Regions from separate parts of the Homo sapiens genome. Here region 2 is linked to region 1. The links are contacts of gene promoters, found by promoter capture Hi-C in blood cells and fetal thymus (Javierre and others, 2016). All regions are on one chromosome and are shown on one strand. The core of a region is centred on a gene start or on the middle of the fragment in contact, and the rest is flanking DNA. Distances in the headings are between cores, read along the strand shown.

What was found. Contacts are between HindIII fragments. The CHiCAGO score rates a contact against its expected background, and 5 or more counts as called.
Region 2: a fragment that was not itself captured here is called in contact with the fragment with the promoter of POFUT2 in region 1 in 1 of 17 cell types (M2 macrophages); the score reaches 6.0 in M2 macrophages.

The regions. Positions count from the first base shown.
Region 1 is chr21:45,284,270-45,290,474 of GRCh38, forward strand. POFUT2 (protein O-fucosyltransferase 2) reads right to left here and starts at 3,626. Exons shown (of 9, transcript NM_133635.6): 1 at 3,472-3,626; 2 at 1,409-1,659. The coding sequence starts at 3,602. LINC00205 (long intergenic non-protein coding RNA 205) reads left to right here and starts at 3,783. Exons shown (of 3, transcript NR_026943.1): 1 at 3,783-3,975; 2 at 5,082-5,169; 3 at 6,202-6,205. RefSeq lists a silencer at 3,553-4,082 and an enhancer at 4,237-4,967. The HindIII fragment of the contact is 9,019 bases long and covers 1-5,754 here.
Region 2 is chr21:45,877,209-45,883,413 of GRCh38, forward strand. The region is part of intron 5 of PCBP3 (poly(rC) binding protein 3); the gene reads left to right. Among named protein-coding and RNA genes, the nearest start is that of PCBP3-AS1, 44 kb to the left of the region's middle. RefSeq lists an enhancer at 3,367-4,171. The HindIII fragment of the contact is 1,078 bases long and covers 2,667-3,744 here.

The DNA.
Region 1 (6,205 bases), core at 2,376-4,875:
GAAGTTCTGGTATCCTTTTTGCTCACTCATGACTGGGGGCTAAGGGCTGCGTGGCCTAAGGGCCTGAGGCCACAGCTGCGGGGGCTTCTTTTAGGCTAGTGGGAGGTGGTGAAGATCCTGCACGCTGGGCGCTATGTCAGCCACATCAGGAGCTCACCGTGTGCAGTCTCTTGGCAGCCTCGCCCTAGGACAGGCACCCAGTTCCTTCCCCACCTCACAGGCGAGGAAACAGCTCAGCAAAGCCCCAGGCTGGTGGATGGCAGGTAAGCGTGAGACCAGCATATGTGCCTCAGAAGCTCATTACACAGCATCTGTCTTCCCAGACCTTCCCAAGCACTTGGATGCCCAAGGCCCAGACCTGTCCGCTTCCCTGTCAGGAAACCCACTGGTACCAAAGGGAGGTAAGGATAGCATCTCTGGGTTCCTATAACCCAATGTTCAGACCGAGGGCTGGCTGCTAGTTAGACCCAATACCCAACCACAGCTTTCATCTTCCAGGACTCACAAGCAAATTTTAAAGTCAACTCAGGAAAGGACGCACTCCAGGAATGCTTTTTACAAGCAGCAGACTTTCTGACTTGGTATCAACAAGGATGTTGGAGGTTACCGCCTGTTGTTGCATGCCCCTAGCACTCACAAGACTGACCTTGACACAGAAAACATTTCAGAGTGACAAGATCTAGGGTGCAACGAGAACCACATCCTTGAAAAATGATGACACGGGAGCCACACTCCTTGGCAGGGAGCAAAGGTCTCTAAGCCCCGAGAGTGGCTGTCGAGTAAGAACTCAACAGATGCTGGAAAGCAGGAGCCTGACTCAAAACTAACTCATTCGTCTTCAAGGCCTCTCAAGTGCAGCAGCAAAGCATCACTTACCTTTATCTCTTCCAAACAACGCAACACAAAAAGCTCTAAATACCTTCATTCTAAGAAGAGCTTTAATTCTTCTCTTAAAATTAACTGAAAAGATTAAGCAACACAAAATTAAACGAGACAGACCTTTATCCCTGGCGCTGCACTGAGACACCACGAAGCATACTCCACACGCAGTGCGTCTTCCTGAACGTAAAACAGCCTTTCGCACAGGGAGCCGAGTCCTGTCACTATAACACCCAGGGGTGGCCGCTTTCTTAGGGTGTAAGGGCGGCTCTAACTGAGGGGGCACAAAGCTCATCCACTTCAGGTCCATTTCCGAGAAACATTTTGGGAAGCTCACTGCAGCGTGGGAAAGGGACTGTGCTCCTGAACGGAGGAGGTGCTGCCACAGGCCTCAGGCAGCAGCACTGGGCACTGGAGGATGCTGGTGAGGCTGGATGCAATCGTAAGCCCAACCTGATGTCTACCTTAGAAATGACTGCCTGGCCCCAGTTAAGCAACCACGGCCTCCCAGCGTGCCGCTCGGCCTCACCTGCGATGAACTGCTCATACTCGATGACGGGGATGTTTTTATTGAGACTTGGAAGATCAAAAAACTCAGACCAGGGAATCCGGACCTGGTGGATGTCAGGACTCTGCCAGTGATAGAGGCGGCCCCATGGAGGCAGGACAAGCACCCACTCCTCCGTCTTCAGCAGAGTCTTCAGGAGAGAGGCGATTCGGATATAGACATCCCTGCGCAGGTTGAAGCCTTCCGGGGGGTTGACGTCATACAGAAGATACCTGAGCAGGGAGAAGGAGGACCACAGGTCTCAAATGCTGAGGTTTCTGCACGGAAAACCCGACTGCTCACAAGTCTCAGCGCGTGGCCCGACTCTAGGCACTTAACAATGGTTCCTAGTTTGTGAAGGCAGTGAGTGGCCTGTTTCTCTATGACCAGTTACTTACGGAGCCTGTAAGCAGAAGCAGCAGACATGCTAACATCGTTTTAACAATTAGCAATAGTTCAACACTAAGGCAGAGGAATCCCAGTGACTGGAACCCAAGAATCAGTACCCACATGGTTCTCAAACTGTTTGGTTTAAAGACCCCTTTACACTGGAAACAATGACTGACGGCTGGTTATGTGCACTATGTCTATTGATACGTCCTATGTTAGACGTTAAAGCTACAAGTATTTAATTCAGCTAAAAATAAGAAGCCATTACATGTTAACAAAAACCACATATTTAAATAAAAAATAAGTGTATTTTAAAAAATGAATTAGAAGAACTGTGATGATGTTCTTAATTTTTGCAAATCTCTTTTGGGTTTGGTGACAGCTGGATTCCCATACCCGTTTCTGCATTCAATCTGTTGTGACATCACAGATCAAGTGGTTTCTAGGAAAACTCCACAGTGCATTCATGAGAAGTGAAAAAGGCGTATAATACTCTGGTACTACTATTAAAACGGCTACAAAAGCTCAGAGATCCAGGACACACTTTAAGATCACTGCCCTAGAGGAAGGACACAAAGCGCCCCAAGGCACAGACAAGTCCCCAAGGCACAGACAAGTCCCCAAGGGCTACAGAAACCCTGTCCCTGGCGCTCTCCTTTCCCTGCTCTGCGCTGGTTTTCCATACTCCCATCGTCGCGAGTGAAGCTGCGTGCAGCGCCCAGGCCTGCGAACGCCACGAGGGGCCGTGCACACCTCTGCGTCCAGGCCCCTCCCGGGGTCCGCTTGGAGATCCCACAGCCACAGGGCGGCCGCGAAGCTCGTCTTGGCCCTGAGAATTCACTGCGGAGCGCCCGCCCGGCACTGACTCCCGGCTCCGCACACCCAGGCCTGGACCCGTGTCACTTGCAGGGGCCTCCGGAGCCAGCCCACGCTCAGCCTGAGCAACCCGGCCCCCTTCCTGGGCTCCCGAGGCTGCGCCCCGGGCCTCGCAGACGACCCCGCCTGCAGACCCGGGCCGCAGTGACGCAGCCTCGACTACAGCCAACCCGCTGGCCCGACCCTGCCCCCAGCCCCCGCCCCATCCCATCCCCCAGACTCCAGCCCGGCCCCGGCCCCTGCCCCTGCCCCTGCCCCTGTCCCGTCCCCGTCCCATCCTTCTTGGCCCCGGCTCCCGCCCCGCCCCCATCCCATCCCTCGGGCCCCCGTTCCTGCCCCCATCCCATCCCACCCCTCCTGGCCCTAGCCCCTGCCCCGCCCCCATCCCATCCCATCACCCTGGCCCCTGCCCCGCCCCCATCCCATCCCATCGCCCTGATCCCTGCCCCGCCCCCATCCCATCCCTCCTGGCCCCTGCCCCCTGCCCCTATACCATCACCCTGGCCCCTTACTCCGCCACATTCCTTGCCCCAGAACCCTGACCCCATCCCATTCCCCTGACCCCTGCCCCCTGACCCCGCTCCATCCCATCCCCCTGGCCCCTGCCCCATAACTCCGCTCCATTCCATCTCCCTGGCCCCGGACCACCCTCCATCCCGTGGGCCTGCCCCTGACCCCATCCCATCTCCCTGGCCCCTGACCCCGCCCCGCCCCCATCCCATCCTCTGACCCTGCCCGGTCCTGGAACCCCAGCGTTGGCACCGTGGACGCGCGTTTACCGTCTGCGGGAAGCCGCCCCCGACAGAATATCGGCCGCCGATTGTCCGGGCCAGAACTCCTGGCCGGAGGCAGAAGCCGGAGGCCAGGACACTGCCCCCAGCAGCAGGAAGACGAAGCTGAGTGTCGCCATGGCCCCGGGCGGCCACGCACTTCCGGCGGCCGCGCCCCGCCCCGGAACCACGCCCCGCCCCCGTGAAATGCGTTCCCAGTAGCCACGGCAACGCCCAGCTCCGCCCTCCCCGCGCATGCGTTATGCGCCATCACCGGCAAGCAGGGGCGGGAGGGGGAACTGCGCGTGCGCAGAGTCTCCGCCCTCCTGACCGCAGCGGCTAGAGGTTCCATTGCAGACCCGGAGGCCGTGGCTGTGGTTCGCGGCGGTGCTGTCGCGGGCGCCCTGGCGCAGCCCACGCAGGGGCTCCTGAGGGTCCGCGAGGCCGGGAGGTCCGGGGGTCGGGAGGTCCCGGGGTCGGGAAGTCGGTGGACCCTGCAGGCCAGTGGGGAGGGTACGCGAGACTGGGGGCCGGGAGGGCTGACGGCTGGTGGCGCGGGGCGGGTCCGTGGGGAGGAGGCCCGGGGCTGGTAGGGGCGGGAGGGCTGGACGGCGGGGGCGGGGCGGAGGAGGGGGTCCGTAGACGGGGTCGGCGCCGGGTGCTCTCGCCCCTCTGGAGCTGGGGTCGGGGCGGGAGCCGCGCATGAGAGCCTGGGTTTCTAGTCGGGGGGCGCCGTCGAGCTCCACACCTGCGGCCTCCTGGGTGCCCCCAACCCTGGAGCCCCGGCGAGGGGGCACCCGGGCTGAGGCCTGGCCCTCCAAGGAGCCCTGGAGGGACTGTGCTGCTAGGGCGCGGGGCTCGATGGGGTGATCTGGAGACCTGGGGGGATCCGGGGCTGCCGCCCCTGCGCTGCCAACCTCCCACCCCGCCCCTTCTGCGAGGCGTTATTAAAGGTCTGGTTTCGGGAGCCAGGTGCGTGCCCGCCGCCGCCGCTCCCCGCAGCCTCCAGGCAGCTCCCGCTGTTCCCCGAGGGCACCAGCACTGGCCGACCGACCTGGCTTGGGGCGCGGCGCTGGCAAACCCGGCCTTCTGAGGGGACGCCACGCTGACTCTAGTGCAGGCAGCCCCCAAAACGGTATAATTGGACGAATTTCTTGAAGGATGCCAGTTACCAAAAAAGAAAATACTAATGCTTATTATCTGTTAAATTTGAGATCAATTTGTTATCAAATTTTCTCACACAGAAAATTCCAGGCCCAGAGGGCCAAGCTGGTGAATCCTACTTAGAGAAGAAATAATAGGAATCCAGCCACTCAGACGATGGACGAGGAGGGGCACTTCCCTGCTCGATGTATGGGCCAGCATTGCCTTGATAGCAAAGTCAGACATCACCAGACAGTAGAACCACAGACCAATGTCTTTCATGAACCAAGACACAGCATTTAAAAAAATTAGCAAATGGAATTTATATCTGCCTATTGTTTACAAAAAAAGCCAAACTTTGTAAAATACTTGAAGAGATTTATTCTGAGCCAAATATGACCCATGACACAGCCTCAGGACGTCCTGAGAACTTGGCCCAAGGCGGTTGTTTTACTGCTTGGTTTTATTCATTTCAGGGAGACATAAGACATCAGTCAGTACATGTGAGGTGTGCATTGGATTGATCCAGAAAGTCAGGACGACTCCAAGTGGAAAGGCCTCCAGGTAATAGGTGGATTCAAAGATGTTTCTGATTGGCAGTTGGTTGAAAGAAGTTACTATCTGAAGGCTTGGAATCAATAGAAAGGAGTGTCTGGGTTAAGAGAAGGGGCTGTGGAGACCGAGGTCCTTATTATGTGGATGAAATCTCATAGGTGTCCGCCCTCAGAGGCAATACATGGCAAATGTTTCCTATTCAGACCTTCAAAAGGCACTAGACTCTCAGCCAGTCTCCTCAGGATCAGAAAAAGAGCTGGAAAGGGAAGGGGAGTCTACAGAATATGAATTTCCCCACAAGACACCGCTTTGCGGGGCCATTTCAAAATTTGTCAAAGAGATATATTTTGGGGTAAAATACATTGATACTTTGAGGGCCTGTTGTCACGTGATGCTATACCAGCGTCAGATTGGAACTTGGTGTCTTGCTGCTATGGAGTCTGCTGTCAGTCTGGTCAGCTGCACCTGAACTCCAAAGGGAGGTGGGTATAATGAGCCATGTCCAATCCCCGTCCCTTCCTGGCCTGAGCTCATTTTTCAGGTTCTTCAGAATCCCCCTGGTGGAGATGAGGGATCCATTCAGTGGGTTGGGGAAGCTTAGAGTTTTATTTTTGATTTACACTATGTGAAGCAGAAATTAAAATACTGTAACCCTGATAGGGTTATTTTAAAGCTGCAGGAATCAAGGCAGGTTGCCGTGGGTAAGAGGATAGACAGGCAGGTCATGTAGCAGGACGAGCTGCGGACAAAACCCCTCAGACACCAGGTTAAGGAAGGATTTGGCTTTATTCGGCCGGGAGCTTCGGCAGACTCGCGTCTCAAGAACCGAGCTCCCCGAAAACAGAGTTCCTGGCCCTTTTAAGGGCTTACACCTCTAAGGGGTCCACGTGAAAGGGTCGTGATAGATTGAGATCACATGTGGTTAGAGTGGGAGGGGGGGTAATCTTTTAACCTCAGGCCTGGTCATCGGTGGCACCGGCTGGTCTTGCTGCTGACTTCATTCCTGTTGTTTTTCAACTTTTACTTCATCCTTCTCTTCAGAGAC
Region 2 (6,205 bases), core at 1,956-4,455, 590 kb after region 1:
GGAACCTAGGCCTGGAGCCAGCTGGTCACAGTTCAGGGTCATCGCACTGTGTCACCTCGTGTAAAACGGAGGAAGAGCTCGCCCTACTGTGTTAGGACAGCCTGGATTTATATATGGAAAAACATGGGGCTGTGGCCCTGTGTGGCCGCTGTTTCATTACACATCACTTCTTACTAGGGCAGTATTCATTTTACTAGCATTCTGTTGATTTGAATATTTTTTTAAAAAAAGAGTAACTGGCAAATTTATCAGAATTTATAGTGGTACCAGTTTTAAACAGATTTTGCCAATTTAATCAATATAAAGATGAAATGGCCAGGTGCAATGGCTCACGCCTGTAATCCCAACACTTTGGGAGGCCGAAGCAGCCAAATCACCTGAGGTCAGGAGTTTGAGACCCGCCTGGCCAACGTGATGAAACCCCATCTCTACTAAAAATACAAAAAATTAGCCGGGTGTGATGGTGGCACGCCTGTAGTCCCAGCCACTCAGGAGGCTGAGGCGGAGGAATTGCTTGAACCTGGGAGGTGGAGGTTGCAGTGAGCTGCTGTACTCCAACCTGGGCAACAGGAGTGAAACTCCGTCTTAAAAAAAAAAAATTAAATGAGGCTTTGATTCTGGTCAAATGGAGTGGGGGTACACCCCCCTGCCCCTCCCACTGAGCACAGCTGGGACTTCTGCACAGAGTGCTGGAGCAGCTCCCTTGGGACCGGGAGGCGGCAGTGGGAGCAGGCTGGAAAGGAGTCCAGCCCAGCAGGGAGCTTCCTGTGTCCTCACTGCCCTTGCCACATGGCCTGGACTCCAGGCAGCCACATACCCAGAAGTGCAGCCACAGAGAAGCTCCGCATTTCTGTCTGAGGATGGAGAGGGAGCTCCTGCTGGTTGGCATTTGCTCCACCTTCCAGTCTCTCCCATCCTCACCCCCAGGCGATCCTGTGGCAGCAGTGGCTTTGAGGGCACAGCAGCCTGACAGGCTGGCAACGCACAGGGGCAGAACTTTTCTCTCCCACCAGAGGACCTGTGGTCTCAGAGAATGAAGGGGCCCTCCCAGGGCCATTTCCCATCCCTGCCCTCCGGGGTGGGGGGGTCCTCCCGGGGCTGTTTCGTGTCTCTGCCCTTCTGCCTCTTGGCCTTAGACAGGATGCAAGTGCAGTAAGTTTCTGGCACTGTGGCAAAAGCCAGGCCCTGGTCAGAAAGCCCTGGAGATCACAGAGAGGGGCGAGTTTGAAAAGGGGATTTCATGAAGTTGTGTGTGCATTCCTGGGCACTGCCTGCCCTCTCTACGTCTGGGTCTGACCACAGACAGTACAGCAAAGGCTTTGACAAGGGGACTGCAGGGTTGATGGCCCCCAGGTCCCAGCCGGGCACTGGGTGGCACACACGTGGCACAGAGCTAAACAGCGGTGCAGAAGCTCTCAGAACAGAACAGACATTGGAGCCACAGCCCACAGAGGCTTTGGAACTAACTAGAACCACTGCCCGATAAAATAAAAATGTCGTGGTTCTGCATAAGATTTAAGTGATAACTGGAGTGTTACGACAATATTCAAACAGACCAGAGGACAACTCGACGTCCGTACTCAGCATAGGAAGAAATAGGAACCCTCAGCCTCTCCAGCTGGGAAATGAGCAACACACACCAACCTGGGATCCTTCCTGGTGGAGGATCCACAAGATCTTCAGAGCAGCTGCGCCACCGTGCTCCAGGAGGAAGGGTGAGCCCTCTCAAAATGAATGGAAAAATAGGAACTCTACGCAGGGAAAGCGAAGGTTTTGTTTGTTTGTTTGTTTGAGTGAGACAGGGTCTCACTCTGTCACCCAGGCTGGAGTGCAGTGGTGCAATCTCAGCTCACTGCAGCCTCCATCTCCCAGGCTCAAGCGATCCTCCCATCTCAGCCTCCCAGCAGCTGCAACCACAGGTGCAGCCACCACACCTGGCTAATTTTTAAAATTTTTCGTAGAGATGAGGTCTCTCTGTGTTGCCCGGGCTGGTCCTAAACTCCTACACTCAAGCGATCTGCCTACCTCAGCCTCCCAAAGTACCGGGTTTACAAGCGTTAGCCACTGCGCCTGGCCAAGGAAATAGATTTAAAGAATAAAATGGAAATTTTAGAACTAAAAAATCTAATAACCAGAATGAAAAATTCATGATGTAGACTCAATAACAATGGAAGTGACAGGGCACAGCGTCAGCAAACACGAGGACAGCTCAGTACAAATGATCCATGCCGAGTGATAGAAAAAGGACTGGGAGAAATGAATGGAGCTTCCGAGACCTGCAGACAATGCAGACACCACAGTACACGTGGTTTTTATGTGCACATGGGATGTTCCCCAAGGCAGGTCATATTCCATGTAAAAAACTAAAGCCTAACAAATTTAAAATAATTTAAATCATATAAAATGTATTTTCTGGCCACAGTAGAATTAAACTATAAATCAATAACCAGAGATAACTGGAAATTTTCCAAATACTTGAAAATCAAAACACACACCTCTAAATAATGCCCTAGTCAAAGAGGAAGTATAAAAAAATTAGAAAATACTTTGAAGTAAGAGAAAATGAAAAAAAACCTATAGGATACTAGTAAATCAGTGCCTCTAGAGAAATTTATAGCATGACAGCATCCATTAGAAAAGAAGAAAGGTCTTCAAACAATAATGTAAGCTTCCACTTGAAGAAACTTTAAAAAAAGAAAACAAAACAAGCAGAAGGGAGTAAATAATCAAGACCCAAACCCAATGAAATTAAAAACAGAACTAAGCCTCTTCACATTGGAGTAGTTCAAATAAAGGAAGGACAGAAACAATCATGGGTTTCAAGAGCTTGCAAAACGGTGGCAGTTCTCTGCTGTCTGCGTTTGTTGTGTGGCGTGAGAGTCCATCCTGGTTTCGTGGCATTTTTCTCTGCATCCTTTTTATTGACAAGACGTTCCTGTCGTGAGTGGTTTTCCTCTGGCCTCTTCTGGGAGCTGGTGGATTTGCAAGTCACGGCCAGCCTTCGAAAGCAGGACTGTTGCCTGGTTCCCCAGTTGCCCTCCTGGAAAGCTCTACCCTGCTGGCCCTGGGCCTCGGAGGGGAGGGGAGCGCCTGGGGCGCCGCGGTCCTGACCCCACACAACTTCTTCTGCCATGGCCCAAACCCAGCCCTGTGCCGCCTCTGTGGGCCACAGGGACCCCCACAGCAGACCCCCAGCAAACCCTCAGTGACTGTCTGAATGAAAAACGCAGGAGTGGGTGGTGTGGGAGAAAATAGGATTACGGTGCTTCTGAGTATTGAGTTTAGAAATCGCTGAATTTCAGAACGTTCCACGAGGCCGTGGAAATTGAGCTGGGCTCAGTGCTCATGGTGTGAATCTGTCTAATCCTTAAATACATACTGCGCCCCCTTGTGGGCCAAGAGTGGTGCTGGGAACTGGGGATTCAGTGGTGAACGGAGGAGACACGTGTGCCCTCTGCCCTCTCGGTGCCAGGGTGGCCCCAGGTGACTGCAGCAGGGCCAGGAGAGACGGGGTTGTAGGTACAGCCTGGTAGGCAATACCCTCCAGAAGAAGGTCCTGATAAGTGGGTGGGAGAACTCACCCTGTCCCTGCCACGGAAGCCAGGGAGCCAGCGGGAGGGCAGGGAGCAGTGACAAACAAGACCAAGGGGGTAGGTGCTGGGCTCTGGACGGGAGGCTCAGGGCCGGGGTTAAACAGCACAGCAGTGGGAAGGTACCCAGGGGCTTCAGCACGGGGTGAGTCCAAGCTTAGAAGCTCACTGGCAGCGTCAGGCAGCTCATGCCCAGCCAAGTGCTCCTGAGTGGACATGCCTGGGCCAGCTGCGGGCCACAGCTGTGGCTGCTTTCCTGGCTGGCCTTCATCAAGCTGAGCGAGTTCCCCTCTATTCCTGTTTTTTTCTGAGCATTTTAATTTTTATCGTGAGTTGGTATGGAGTTTTGTGACAGGCTTTTCTGCATGCATTGATATGATTGTGTGCTTTCTTTAGTCTGTTAATAAGGTAGATTACACAGACAGATTTTCCAACTCTGAGCCAGCCTTGCATCACAGGAAGAATGGTTATAGCATGTAATTCTTGTGGTATATTGCTGAATTCTATGTGTTCATGTTTTTTGTGTGTGAAATTATTAAATCAAGCTAATTAACATATCCATCACCTCACATACCTTTGTTTGTGGTGAGGTTCGAGTGATCCTCCCACCTGTCTCCCAGGAGTTGAGACCACAGGTGCACTCCACCACACCCAACTAATTTTTTCAACATTTTGTAGAGATGGGGTCTATTTTGCCCAGGCTGGTCTTGAACTCCTAGACTCCAGTGACCTGCCTACCTCAGGCAACAGCCTAGGCAACATAGAGAGACCCCATCTCTATAAAGAATTTAAAATCACTCTCAGCAATTTTCAAGTATACATTGTTCTTACCCATAGTCACTGTGCCACACAGCAGCTCCCCAGCCTGTTTGACTCCCGTCTAACTGAACTTGTGCCAGTGACCAACAGCTCCCATTTCCCCCAACCCCCCGCAGTCCCCGACAGCCACCTCCCACCCTCTGCTTCTGTGAGATGCACTTTTTTAGATTCCACATGTGAGATCATGCAGTATTTGTCTTTCTGTGCCCAGTTCATTTTACTTGTTATAATGTCCTCCAGGTTCATCCGCAGTGACACAGATGACATGGCTTCTTTCTGTGTGTATGTCTGTGTGTGACATTTTCTTTATCCGTTCGTCTCTCTATGAACACTTAGGCTGATTCCACCATATCTAGGCTGTTGTGAGTTGTGCCACAATCAACACGGGCCTGCATGTGTCTCCTCACTATAGTGACTTTGGGTATATGCCCTGAAGTGAGACTGCTGGATCCTGTGGTGGTTCTATTTCTAGTTTTTTGAGGAACTTCCGTACCGTTCTCCATAATGACTGTACTAAGTTTCCCATCAGCACTGTACAAGGGTTCCCTTTTGTCCACCTCCTCACCAACACTTAGCTTTTGTCTTTTTGATAATAGCCATTCTAACAGGTATGAGCCGATATCCCATTGTGGTTTGAATTTGCATTTTTCTGGTGATTAGTGATGTTGTGCACTTTTTCATATACCTGTTAGCCATTTGTATGTCTCCTTCTGAGAAGCTTCCATTCCGTTTCTTTGCCATTTTTTTAAAATCTGGTATTTGTTTTCTTGCTATTGAGTTGTTTGAGTTCCTTACACATTTTGAGTATTAACTCCTTATCAGATGTTGTATGGTTTGCAGTTTTTTTTCCAGTTCCCTAGGTTGTCTCTTCACTCTGTTGTTTGCTGTGCAGAAGCTTTTCAGTTTGATATAATCCCATTTCTCTACTTTCTGCTTTTGTTGCCTGTACTTTGAGGGCCATATTTAAAAAAAAATCATTAACTAAACCAGTGTCGTGGAATTTTTCCCTGTGTTTTTTCTTAGTGGTTTTGCAGTTGCAGATCTTACATTTAAGTCTTTAACCCATTTTGAGTTGATTTTTATAGATGGTGTGAGATGAGGGTCTAATTTCATTCTTCTGCACAGGGACATCCAGTTTCCCCAACACCGTTTATTGAAGAAACTGTCCTTCCCCGTGTGTGTTCCTGGTGTCTTTATTGTAGATGGATTGGCTGCAGCTGCGGGGTTTCCTGCCAGGCTCTCCGCTCTCCTCCACCGGCCTGCATGTCGTTCTTACACCAGCGCCAAGTTCTGGTCTTTAGTATTTCATTCCTCTGCTTACTTGGATTTATTTTGTTCTTCTTTTATTAGATTCTTAAAATGAGTGCTTAGATTATTGATTGGAAGCTTTTCTCTCTTCAAATGTGTGTGTTTCGTGCCACAGGTTTCCCTCTCAGCACTGCTGTAGTTGTGTCCTGCGATTTTTGATATGCTGTGTTTTTATTTTCATTCAGGTCAATGTGTTTTTTGATGTTCCTTGAGATTCCCTCTTTGACCCTTGGATTGTTCATATATGTGTTTCATTTCCAAGTGCTTGGAACTTTTCTTGTTATCTTTCCATGATTGATTCTGGTTTGAGTCAGCTGTGGTCAGAGAACATACACTACGGTTTCAATTCTGTTAAATTTGCTGAGGTTTCTTTTATGGCCAAGGGTATGGTCTATCCTGGTATAGATTCTGTACATGCAGGAAGAGAGTGTGGATTCTGCTGATGCTGGACAGAGTGTTCCGGAAGTGTTCGTTAGGCCCCGTTGGTT